Linked DNA regions of Homo sapiens: all the other regions are linked to region 3. The links are contacts of gene promoters, found by promoter capture Hi-C in human tissues and cell types (Jung and others, 2019). All regions are on one chromosome and are shown on one strand. The core of a region is centred on a gene start or on the middle of the fragment in contact, and the rest is flanking DNA. Distances in the headings are between cores, read along the strand shown.

Region 1 (4,037 bases), core at 1,364-3,863, 580 kb before region 3:
AAGAGACCAGCCTGGGTAACATGGCAAAATCTTATCTCTACAAAAATAAAAAAATTAGCTGGGCGTGGTGGCACACACCTGTGGTCCCAGTTACTTGGTAGGCTGAGGTGGGAGGATCACTTGGGCCCGGGAGGTCCAGGCTGCAGTGAGCCATGACGGCTCCACTGCACCCCAACCTGACTGGGAGAGAGAGACTCTGTTTCAAACAAAAAAAGAGATTTGCCCAAGGAAAGTGTAATGGCAAGTGAGTTTCAAATGTGACTAGAGCTAGCAAACTCTTATCAGGATTGTCACATTTCCAAAAGTATCTTCTTTGGGCTTATAAATTCTTCAATCTCTGTGTATGTACATATTGAAACATGAGGCTCATGTTTTACTGTTGTGGGATTGGTTTCTTCTTGACAAAAAGATTATAATCACAATATAAAATGATCAAGGGTCTTAAAAAGAACTTTAAAAATTTAAGCAGGCTGGGCGTGGTGGCTCACGCCTGTAATCCCAGCACTTTGTGAGGCTGAGGCGGGTGGATCACGAGGTCAGGAGTTCAAGACCAACCTGGCCAAGATGGTGAAACCCCGTCTACTAAAAATACAAAAAAACTAGCCGGACATGGTGGCAGGCACCTGTAATCTCAGCTACTTGGGAGGCTGAGGCATAAGAATCGCTTGAACCTGGGAGGGAAGGGTTGCAGTGAGCTGAGATCATACCACTTCATTCCAGCCTGGGTGACAGAGTGAGACTCCATCTCAAAAAAAAAAAAAAAAAAAAAAAAATTTAAGCAATCAATGGATAATAACTAGGAAACAATACATGTATTATATACCCTTCATTGTATATCTCACCCCACACATGAATTAACTCAAGATGGATCATAGACCTAAATATTTAGCAATTATAGTCTGTATATAATGTGATTGATTACAGATCTGTATTTTACAATGCAACTGATTATAGCATCTGTACATGAAATGCAATCAATTACAGATTTTAAGAGGAAAAAAGCCTATTAATATCTTTCATGGTCAACAAAACTCTACCTCTCCTGCTGGTACTCAGTCCTGCAGTAGGTGCACTTCACAACAGGGTGTGCAATCCGACATTCCTGAAATGAAATGAGGATATAATTTTAAAAGGCAGTCACAAATGGAAACAGCCTTCAGTAGGAAGCCGACCTGGGTACTATTTCTAGCATAGCTACTATGCTTGAGTGAGTCACTTAAACTTTCTGGGCCTTATTTTTCTCCTCTGTAATACTGGCATCACTTCCCTACTGTTGATGTGGGAGTTAAGTAAGAACTTATATGGATTATATGGAACTAGCCATAAATTGTAAAACAAACATATATATGAACAAGTCCCAGACTGGGAATCAGAAGCCCTGAATTCCAGGCCTGGTTCTTCTGCCACTGTGTGATTTTGCGGTTTACTTGTGAAATGAAAGTGCTGGATTAAAATTATTATTTATATATACATAACTTCCTTAAAATCATATATACATATTTTGAGGCCAAAAAGGGCACTCAAGCACTTGCATTCCCCCAGACCTGGTATATAAAAACTGGCAAATGGAAAGTCATGACCATCTGAGGCAAAAGTGACAATTATGAGTTATCCAAATCAGAGACACAAACTGGATTATTGGATAACCTCAACATTATTCTTCAGCCAGTTTGGTGACTTTTTAACTGTTGCCTCACAGCACCTCTAGTCACTTAAAAAGTAAAAGTGGGATAAAGCAACTTAAAAGAAAAAGAGAAGTTGGACCTTCAGGAGCAAAAACTGATCAGCAGCTAGTCAGGGAAGACCGAAGACCACCAACTGGATGCTGAGAAGTGATCCCTCGGATCTGTGAGCCTGACTGTGGGGCTTTTTTAAAACATAAAGCCTTGCTGCCTCCGATTCTGAGACTGGCCGAAAAGTGAGATGCTTAAAAAAAAAAAAAAAATCAAGCCTTGCTACCTCCGATTCTGAAACTGGTCGAAAAGTGCCCGTGAGGAGCCCGAGTTCGACACATTCCTCCAAGGCAGCACCCAACTTTGGAGTTCAGTCCCAGGAGGGGCAGGAGGTCCCCACCAGGGAGACCGCGGCGGCGGGGGAGGCAGCGCAAAGGGATCCCGAAGGCGACCAGTCAGGGCAAGCAGGGGACCCGCTGTCCCTCCCCCGACCTCACGGGGTCCGAGAACAATCCCCACGGTTGCTAAGCACCCGGACACGCCGGCCGCGGGAGCCTGGACCGGGTCCCGGCTCCCGCACGTGCCCCGCCGGCCCCCAGCGGGGTGGGTGCGGCTCCTCAGCCTGGCGGGCCTGCCACACCCTGCTCCGGGGACCCCGCCGGGCGTCCCCACAGAATCTGGAGCTCCGGGCCGCGCCTCCTGCGTCCCCAGTTCCCGGCCGCCGCCCCAGCCCGCGCACCTTGCACAGCTGCTGCCCCTGAGACAGCGCCTCGAAGGGGAAGCGCTGGTGGCACTTGGTGCAGGCGTAGAGCGCCGCCATGTCCGGCCCGGGCCGCGCTCACCGACCCGCCGGCCCGGCCCGCCGATTTATCTGACAGTCTGAGGCACAACCCGGCGGCGGCTGCAGGCTGCTGGCTGCGGCAGGCGGGCGGGCGCAGGCGGGTCGGGGCGGACCCGGGCGGGCTGGGGCGGGCACGGCGACTCTAGACGCCCGCTCACTGGTGGGCTTTGACGTCGATCAAGTGGGAAGGGGCGGAACACGGAGCTTTCGCCCACTCTGATTCGGTCTGGCCTGGAGTACGCCACTGTGACGCTCCAGGCCGCGATTATGTAAAGCGCAGTCACGCGGGGGCGCCACCTGGAGGGGACAGGCTCCCGGCCGGGACCTCGGAAGAGCTTAGGCTCCGCCCTACTTGCTCAGCGTTCCCGCCCTCGCTCCGCCTCTCCACGGCCTCAGGCGCATCTGCGCTTCTCGCGATACCTTCGGGGATTTGTGATGTTTTGGTTTCCATGGAGCTGCCCTCTGGGAGCACGAGGGGTACAATTGGAACGAAGGCGGCGCACAGTTAACTGGAACTCTGCAGCCGTCCAAGCCCAAAGAAGGTGGGGAGCTTGGGAAAGAAGTTCCTCATAATCGGAGCAGGAGGAGCCCGCCCAGCCTCGCTCAAAGGAGGAGACGAGACTCTGAGGGACAATTTAGAAGTGTGTCCTCAATTTAAGACACCTAAATAGGGAACTGTGGGGCTGTGGGCCTTAGGAGAGAAAAGGAGAGCCCCAGAGAGAGCACCCCTATGCTGCGGAAGAGGGACTAAAGAGATGGCAGTCCTTCCAGGAGGGATTGGACAGATATTCAGGCGTCCGGTGGCCTGCAGGCCCCCATCAGAGTGGGCTGCAATTGGCCCAGACCTGCTTCCTACTTTGTTTTCTCCGGTTTCACCCCCAGCTTCTCTCGCAAGCAACCACCTGGTGATTCCTGACGAGGCCTGACTTCCGGAAGGCAAGCCACGCCCTCCGGGCTCCCCTGCCTCTCTTTGGCTCCAGCTTGGCATGTATAGGAGCTGCCCAAGGAATGACAGACTTCTTGTTCTTGAGGTGTTGGCAAAGCTTCCTGCACTGCTGACCTATCCAAGTCCTGCCTTGTAGCTGCTCTTGGGCATAGGTTACTCTTGGCTCTGCCAACCACCCGTACAGGACTAATTGCAGTTTTACCTCAACGTGCGCTTTTTACAATTAAAAACTGACTTAATGGCTTCTATTTCCCTGCCTCAACAAAAAAAATTTACTCTCTCTGAACCCAAATCTGGCTGCTTCCTTGTAGGATCCCCCAAAGATGTGCATTAATCATTAGGATCAGAAAGCAAAGTTTCCAAATCACTGTTCCACAACTAACTACATGACCTTGGATCTATCACTGAACTTCTCACGGCCTCGTTTTTCTCAATTGTACAATGAGGTCATTGTGAGAATCAAAACCAGTACATGAGTCGGGGCGGGATGGCTCACAACTGTAATCCCAGCACTTTGGGAGGCTGAGGCCAGAGGATCACTTGAGCCTTGGGATTTAAGACCAGCCTGGGTCGGCCG
Region 2 (3,975 bases), core at 1,169-3,668, 610 kb after region 3:
CCATAGATTACTCCACCTGGGCTGCACCCTGGGCCAGGCCCTGCCTCCCAGCGGCCCATTTTCAGCAGCATTAAGGGAGGGCAGGGCAGTCCAGATCCTAGGTCCCTGTGAAAAGTCCCCCACCAGCCCCTCACCTGCCTCCTTCCTGGCTAGGAGCTGCCAGCAGTGGTGGTGCCTGTACGTGCAGGTCAGGCGGCTGTATCGCTTACATGTCACCTGGGCTAAGAACAGCGAGGCCCTGTTCTCCAGTGAGAACAGCCCAACCTGCGCCGTGGCTGCCCTGTGGCTCCTGTTACCCAAACAATAACACCCAGTCGCCTGGCACCTCCAGGAGTGGGGGAGGGGGGACCAGACAACAGTACCCAGCGCTCTGCACCCTCTCAGGCCCAGGAAGTGGAGGCTAGAACCTAGCACTTGCCACTGGAGAAGCAGAGGCCCAGACAGGCTGAGGACTGACTGAGGATCACACATCGTTTCTGGAGCGAAGCTCCTGAGGAAATTGCGTCCCCCTGCCCCACCAATCCCAGGAAGTCCGCTGGTCTTCCCCTCTCACAGACCTGAGATGTTACAGAACTCAAAACTGAGATGAGTTTCCCAGTTAAACCTGGCTCCCTGGTGAAGCTGGCCCCTGCCTCAGGATTCCCTAAAGAGAAGCAGGAAGTGGTGCCCCAGGATCGAGCTCCTGGGTGTCCACCCTCCCTATCAGCATAAAGTCACTCCCCAGCCTCTCCCAGCCCTACCTTCTCCTTTGGAGGCCTGGTCCCAGGGGCGTGCCTGGGCAAAGGAATCCACCTCTGAGCACCACCCCCAGGACCTTGCGCCCCGGTCCTAGTAGCGGGGTGGCAGTACAGGGGCTGCAGAGGGCAGTGTTCCTCACCTCAGAGGGTGAGTCAGCGAGAGAACCTCTGAGCAGCCTAGCAGTGCCTGTAAAATCCCCATGGCAGGAATCCCAGAGCAATTTACTCCAAATTGCTCCTTCAGGTTGGTTACCTAATCCTGCCGCGCCCACCCTCCAATAGCCAGTGTCGGCCATCCCTTTAAAGGGGCAGCACACCCTGGGGGCTGGGGACCCTGGGTGCTCACCCTGATCTAAGCCTGTGGTCCTGAGAGGCAGGACACTTGGTGGCTGCCCTAGGTAAGAGAGGGCAGAGGAGGGGACTGAGACAGGGGCTCCAGGCCCAAGCTGGGAGAAAGTCATCTCAGCTCCTGGGCTCAAATGAGGTCTCCATTCCCTCCCTGCATACCCCCAACAACCACCTGGGAAGGAGAATATCACCTGCTTCCTTCCCAGCAAGAGGTTAAGGAGGAAGTTTTCCACCAGCTCATTCAGGGGCTTGACCTTGACCCTGGGGTCAAAAGGCACAGGAAGAGGTGGCCTTCTGCACGCTTAGGGACTGGAGCCACAGAGCCCTCAAGGGAGGTCAGGAGCTGCTTCTGAGAGAGAAGGAGCTGGGTTGTCTGGGGAGTCTGGGCTGGCAGAAGCCAAACTCCCCAAGGGCCCAGCCCTTCCTACCGGAAGGGGCATAAGAAGGGAGGCAGGCACCAAGGTCCCCCCACGCCCTGCCAGGAATCATCTTCACAAGGTCTAAGGGCTCTTCCCCACTCTCGTCTCCACAGCCTGGGGTAGGGCACACAGGTGTCCTCTGGCCCTAGCCTCAGGGCAAAGAAAACCAGGAGTTCCAGCCCCAGACGGGTGGTGCCATCCCACACTCCGCATCCGCCAGGGGTCAAGAGGAGCAATCCTTCTAGGCTCAGCAGCGGTGAAGCCAGAAGCAGGGAGCTCTTGGCGGAGGGCCCTGGGAGAAGTGGGGGTCCCATAACCCCTGTCTCTGGTAGAATCCCAGACATCTGGCACTGAAGATCTCCCCGTCTGCATTAATGGAGGAAGCTCCGACAGCTCTGGACAGATGCCGGGACGGGTCCTAGGTGTGGGGTGAAGGCGACCAGATCTCAGCGCCCCATAGGATCCCCTCTCCTGGCTATGGCGGGGAGGTAGTCGGCGCTTGGCGGAACTGTCCCTCGCACACGCACACCCGGGCATAGGGGGGTGGAGCCGGACAGTGGGCAAGAGATCGGAGGGCACTCGCGCCCTCGCGGGCGCCCGCCGGACTGCAGCGGCGCTTCGGGCCGCCCCGCCCCTGTGAGGATCCGGGCTCGCCGGCCGCGGGCGCCCGTCCCCCGCCCCGCTCACTCACCTCCGGGTCCAGAGGCACTAGCTCCATGAGCGGCCAGGGCTCCTTGAGCTGGGCGAGCGGCATCTCGCCGCCGCCAGGTCACCCGCGCTCCTCCGGCGGCCCCGGCTGCGCCGCCTCCCGGGTCCTGGGGTCCCTGGCTCTGCGACCCGAACCGCCGCGCCCCCCCGAGCCCCTCGCGCTCCGGCTGGGCCGTCCGCCGCCGCCGCCGCGGCACTAGCACTTCGGCTCCCTCCGTCACCCGGCGCCGCCGCGCCCATTGGCTACCTGCGCGGGGGCGGAGCCGGAGAAGCCCCGCCCCAGCCCCCGCGGCGCGGCATTCCCAGCGCGGACCCCCGCCCCCGCCGCGCCCCGAGGGCCGGCCCCGCCCCTGCCGCGAGCCCCCGGCCCGCGCTCGGCTCCGCCGGAGAGGCCCTGCTGGCTCCTTCCCTTCCAGTGGTGTACCCCTGGACACACCACACCAGGGCCACCGTTCTCCCCCGCTCAGCTCTTTTGGAATCCCAGCCCAGATGTTCCTTCTCCTTCCAACGGGAGAGAAGCACCTTATCCCCGACCCCAGCACACACATTCACACTGGGTTCCTGGGCCTGATCTAGGCTGAGGCTTGGAAGGAGCCTGAGACCCACTCCCCTTAGGCCCTCAACTCACCAGGCCCTAGAGATCCCCTATCCTCTAATTTCTACCCCGCCCTGAAGCTAACACTGTGATCTCCGGGCGATCTCAGTGCCCCAGGCCAAGATGGGCATCAGCAGTTGTTACCACCATCAGGACCCATAGTGCCACCACAGAGTGATTGATTGATCGATTGATTTTACATAATGTATATAAATATTACATATATAAATAAATATGTATAAATAAATATTATATATATGCACATATATGTATGTATGTGTGTATATAGTGAGAGAGAGAGAGACACGAAGTTTCGCTTTGTTACCTAGGCTGGTCTCTGACTCCCCGGCTCAAGTGATCCTCCTGCCTCGGCCTCCCAAAGTGCTGGGATTACAGGCATGAGCCACCGCGCCCGGCCAAGAGTGATTTCTTAATATGCGTTTTTGCAATCTGTGCTCTGCCCTATCACTTGAAGGGGGTCCTTTCAGGTCAGGTCTCCCTGGAGTCACCTGCAGCCCCAGCTCTGGACTAGTTTGGGTTTGCGACTCTCTGAGGAGGGACCAGGCTCCCAGGATGAACCGAGGCTTGGTGGGACTTGGAGTGAAAGGCCAGGGAGACTGGTTGCCCCAGAGAGATTCAGCCTCCACCTAAAGAGCCTTAGGGGTCCGGGTGTGCTGAGATGTATTCACATGTGAGGAGTGAGCTTGCTGGAGGGACAAGCTTGCTGGTTTCGCAGGAAGACTGGTCAGTTATTTGCAAAGCTGTTCTAAGGCAGGGGAATGGGAAGGAATGTTTATCAAAAGCTTCCTGCGAGCCATGTGATTTCCTTGAATGATTACCACCACCTAGTTTACAAATCCTGAAACAAGCTCGGAAAGATGAAGTGACTTACCCAAGGTCACACAAGAGGTTGAGAACAGACTAGGGCTTAAAAAAATCAAAGTGTCACACCTGTAATCCCAGCACTGGGAGGCCGAGGCGGGCGGATCACGAGGTCAGGAGATTGAAACCATCCTGGCTAACATGATGAAACCCTGTCTCTACTAAAAATACAAAAAATTAGTAGGGCGTGGTGGCAGGCACCTGTAGTCCCAGCTACTCGGGAGGCTTAGGCAGGAGAATGGTGTGAACCCGGGAGGCGGAGCTTGCAGTAAGCGGAGATAGCCCC
Region 3 (4,331 bases), core at 152-2,651:
ATATATGTGATTTTATCAAGGGAGAAGGCCCATGATAGACTCAGATTTTTTTTTTTTTTTTTTTTTTTTACACAGTTGATTGTCAGTGTGTAAGCCACAGATTCTGAAGGTTAAGAGCTTCTGCCTTTTGTGTGGTGGGAACTTGAAGAAGGGTAGAGGACTAACTGGTCTGGGATGAATCCTTGGAGGAGGTGGTACTTAATTCTGGGATGAGTGGGGTTTGCCTGTGGGACTGCAGAATACCTTCCAGGCAAGGAGAAGGACCCCAGAGTGAGTAAGCTGTGTCCTGAGAGAAGGGAAGGGGAAATGAGTCCTTAAAGTAGAGAAAAACTTTTCTAAGTTGGAAATCAAAGCAGATGCAACATGCTCCGCCTACACTGTGCAGCAGGGAAGGTACTGGCTTCTTTATGCCCTCTGGGTCTGCTGGGTTGCCATGGTGAGCCCAGCTCACACACAGTAGGTGACTCAGGCCACCTGCCCATTTCCCTAAAGCGGCTAGGGCCCAGGCACACCTCTGAGGCTCTGCTAGTGGGGAAGCAACCACCTTTGAGGCAGCAGACGCAAGAGAAAGCCTCTGAAGGTGGACAGGCTTTGAGGATGCAGCTAGGAAGCCCTGACTGGCCTCTGCTGTTTCCTGGACTGAAGGTCCCTGTTCTCTGTTCTCACTCTGCTTCTAGGAATGAAAGTATAGAATATTCTAATTCTAGAATGTTAGAGATGGAAAAATCCTTATCATAGCTTGTAACCCCCAGGCCCAAAGGGAAATGGAGATGTTTTGATCAAGTTCTCTGTTTTTCCAGTTGAGGCCCAGAGAGGATTGGCCCCAGGCCACTCGTGAATTAATGGCAGAGTCAGTCTTCTTCCCTGCTCTGTTAACTAACTCAGGAGTCCCTAGGCAGTAAGACCTGGACAGTGGACCGAGAGGAGGGGCTGTGGTTTTTGGCTTGGATATTGGTAGCATTGGCAAACCTCAGTTCTTCCAGTGGGCCCTTTAAGCCTAAAGAAGGGCAGCTTCCTCCTGGGGTATCTATTAGGGAGCTGTCCTTGGCAGAGAAACCATTGGTCCTTACACTGGTCCTTACAGGGGAGCCAAGTACAGGTCTTGGGACCTCTGAGACAGCCCAGAGGCTTCTGCCTTCACCCATTGAATCCCTCAGGTCGTGTAGTCCATCACAAGCCAATGTTGAACTTGGGTGCTGTGCTTTTTATAGCATCTTTGCCATCAAGCCAGGGAATAAGATCTTATCTCCCCGGTGGCCAGGACCCACAGGAATCTGGATGCTGTACCAGGTAGGCGTTATGCCAGCATGAGGCGGGGCCAACTCACCTAACTGGGCAAAGCCTAAGACTCAGGTTACAGCAAGATGGGGGAGGGGAGCAGGCACCCTACCCCACCCGCTTCCCTGACTGAGCACTGCCTGCCTGGCTGGTGGAAGGTGCAGAGATGCATGAGAACTGCTTCTTTTACCAAGCTCAACGACTTGTTTGAGAAATGCGGTACAGATGCAAAACAGTCAGACAGTAGAAAGGGGGTGTGATTTGAAGTGCAGATGGAATTCTACGGGAGTTTAGAGGTGGGAGAGAGAATTTCGTACCTGGGAAGATCCCAGTAGGCTGTGCAAGTGACCACTGAGCTAGGCCTTGAAGTATATGTAGGATTTAGATGAGATACTTGAATGAAATCTCACTGGGCACAGCCAGAAGCTTCTACTTGGGGCAGAACCTCTGGATTGCAGAAGAATGTCCCAGAGCAGTTCCCTTTGGAAACATGCCCACAGGCATGGTGGTTAGAAAAACAAGCTTTGCAGCTTGACAGACCTGGGTTCAAATCTCAGCTCTACTACTTTGTAGCACCGTGACCTTGGGCAAGTCACTTATCCTGTTTTAAAAAAATTTTTTTTAATTTTTTATTTTGAGATGGAGATTCTCTCTGTCACCCAAACTGGAGTACAGTGGCACAATCTTGGCTCACTGCAACCTCTGCCTCCCTGCTTCAAGCGATTCTCCTGCCTCCCGAGTAGCTGGGATTACAGGCTTGTGCCACCACGCCTGGCTAATTTTTGTATTTTTAGTAGAGATGGGGTTTTGTCATGTTGGCCAGGCTGGTTTTGAACCCCTGACCTCAAGTGATCCCCCCAGCTTGTCCTCCCAAATTGCTGGGATTACAGGCGTGAGCTGCCGTGCCTGGGCTGTGGAGGTGACCCGCCTGGTGTCATATAGCCTGACTGTGGCAGAGCTGAAGCTGGACTCCAGGACTTCCCCTTCCAAGTCCTGTGCCATTTCTCCTACATAACATTTATGTTATGTTACCCCACCTAGCTGGAGTAGCAAGACTGATCGTCTGAAACATTTAATGAGCAAAGGGTGATTTTGTATGACAACTTGATGTGTAGCTATAAAAGCACTCAATTTTGCAGAACAGATGATGGTTTTAAAAATAGTCCCAGCTATGATAAGTGCTAGGTGAGTGATGCCAGTATTAAGGGGAAAAGGTGTGCCCTTTTTAAGCTACATCACCCTGTCTGAGCCTCAGTTTCCCCAGTCTAAAGGGGGGTGATGTCTGTAAAGCCCTGAGCACATTGTAAGTGCTCACTAATGGGAGTTGCTACTATTCCTGGAGCCTTAAAGGAAGAGGTGAGGGTGGGGTCAAGCACTGGAGGATGGTTTTAGGTATATGGACTGGAGGGCATTGGGGTGAGCTGAGTACTGAGGTTAGGGGTGCAAATGAGACCATTAGCTGAATTGTCTGAGCTCGTTCTTTAGTTGGGAGGTGGGGAGACACATGTTCAGCAAATGGATTCGTGCTGATAAATACTGTACTGAAGATGGAAAGATGGATAAATATAATCCCAGCCTCAAGGGAGAGGCTGGCATGTAAACAGGCACTTGTGATGTGCTGTGAAGTGCTGCAGCAGGAGCCTGCAGAGCTGTGGGTGTGCGGGAGGGAGGAGTGGAGGTGGGTGGGTCAGGAAAGGCTTCCCAGAGCTTTGAGCTGGGTCCTGAAGGTTAAGAATGAGTGTTTTGGCCAGGTGCGGTGGCTCACACCTGTAATCCCGGCACTTTGGGAGGCTGAGATGGGCGGATCACTTGAGGTCAGGAGTTCCAGACCAGCCTGGTCAACATGGTGAAAGCTCATCTCTACTAAAAATACAAAAATTAGCCAGGTGTGATGGTGCAAGTCTCTAATCCCAGCTACTTGGGAGGTTGAGACAGGAGAATGGCTTGAACCCAGGAGGTGGAGGTTGCTGTGAGCCGAGATCGCCTCACTGCACTCTAGCCTGGGCGACAGCGAAACTCTGTTTCAAAAAAAAAAAAAAACAATGAGTGTGCTTAGCTCACATAGAGGGGAGAACTGGAGAAGGGCACAGAGATGTGAATGACACAGAGCCACAGATCATGCAGAACCATTGACCTTTGCTTCTAAAACTCATTGGGATGTTTCCAACCCTTCCACCTCACCCCCAAACACGCCTCACTCACCTGTTTTGCTGGGCAGAGAAGCTAACTGCACCTGTGGGGCACTGAGCACCTGTGATGGCTGTCGCCCTGGTATAGGCAGTGAGGACAGAGCTACCTACCACTTACTGAGACCCTGCCAGTGCCTGGCTTTGTGCTCAGGGCTTCGCATAGTGCATCATTGCCTTCTGCACTATGTGACGGCCCCGAAGGGTGCGAGTCATGGTATCTAGCTTTATTTAGCTTACAGCTACTTTAGGAAAGTGAAACAGGGAATAATTAAGTGCTCGAGGATTGCTGTGCTGTTGCCTCAAAGAACAGGAGACCTTTAGGAAGGGGAGAAATGTGGCTGGAATGAACATGGAGCAGAGATCTTTGTGCAGACACCTTCACCAGACCCTTCTAAGAGGGAGGGAAGGTGACCAATCAGGCAATGGCCGTGACACCGGTTAAGGCTCTTTGCAGGCTCTGAGTACTAGGTATGGGCAGGCACCTGTTGGGGAGCCCAGCCAGCTGCAGGAAAAGTCTGGGTGAGGAGTCAGTGAGAAATAAGACAGTAGGTGGGCGGGGCTGGATGAAGCATCTGGAACTCCAGAGGGGTGTAGACTTGGCCAGGGCTCCTCAGACTGGTGGCAAACACAACCACACCTGTCAAAGGCTTGCCTCTTCACTCCATCTTCTCCAACCCGGGTGATTCCCGGGCCTCCTGAATGGTCTTGCGGCTCCACTGCTGTCTGCCTGCAGGCAGCTCTCCCCAGAGCAGCCGCAGGGAGCTTTGAGACCTGTAAACCAGAGCATGGTGTTTCCCCTGCTGAAAACCTTTCAAATGCTTCCTGATGAACTTGGGAGAAAATGCAAGGAAAGTGTGGCCCACC

The links. The method cuts DNA at HindIII sites, captures the fragments that hold promoters and counts their contacts. A contact is called where the count stands out against the background at its distance.
Region 1: the fragment with the promoter of FAM76A here is called in contact with a fragment that was not itself captured in region 3 in 1 of the 25 tissues and cell types used here (liver).
Region 2: a contact is called between the fragment with the promoter of RPS6KA1 here and a fragment that was not itself captured in region 3, in 1 of the 25 tissues and cell types used here (aorta).

What each region holds. Positions count from the first base shown.
Region 1 is chr1:27,724,537-27,728,573 of GRCh38, reverse strand. It overlaps FAM76A (family with sequence similarity 76 member A), which reads right to left and starts at 2,613. Exons shown (of 9, transcript NM_152660.3): 1 at 2,413-2,613; 2 at 1,038-1,102. The coding sequence starts at 2,493. RefSeq lists silencers at 2,089-2,788, 2,627-3,269. The HindIII fragment of the contact is 12,090 bases long and covers 1-4,037 here.
Region 2 is chr1:26,528,204-26,532,178 of GRCh38, reverse strand. RPS6KA1 (ribosomal protein S6 kinase A1) reads right to left here and starts at 2,418. Exons shown (of 22, transcript NM_002953.4): 1 at 2,196-2,418. The coding sequence starts at 2,258. It overlaps LOC124903884 (a long non-coding RNA gene), which reads left to right and starts at 781. Exons shown (of 2, transcript XR_007065558.1): 1 at 781-981; 2 at 1,618-3,059. RefSeq lists enhancers at 1-901, 902-1,812 and a silencer at 2,054-2,533. The HindIII fragment of the contact is 11,905 bases long and covers 1-3,975 here.
Region 3 is chr1:27,138,785-27,143,115 of GRCh38, reverse strand. All of the region lies in intron 1 of SLC9A1 (solute carrier family 9 member A1), which reads left to right. Among named protein-coding and RNA genes, the nearest start is that of SLC9A1, 14 kb to the left of the region's middle. RefSeq lists a silencer at 364-423. The HindIII fragment of the contact is 4,148 bases long and covers 1-3,475 here.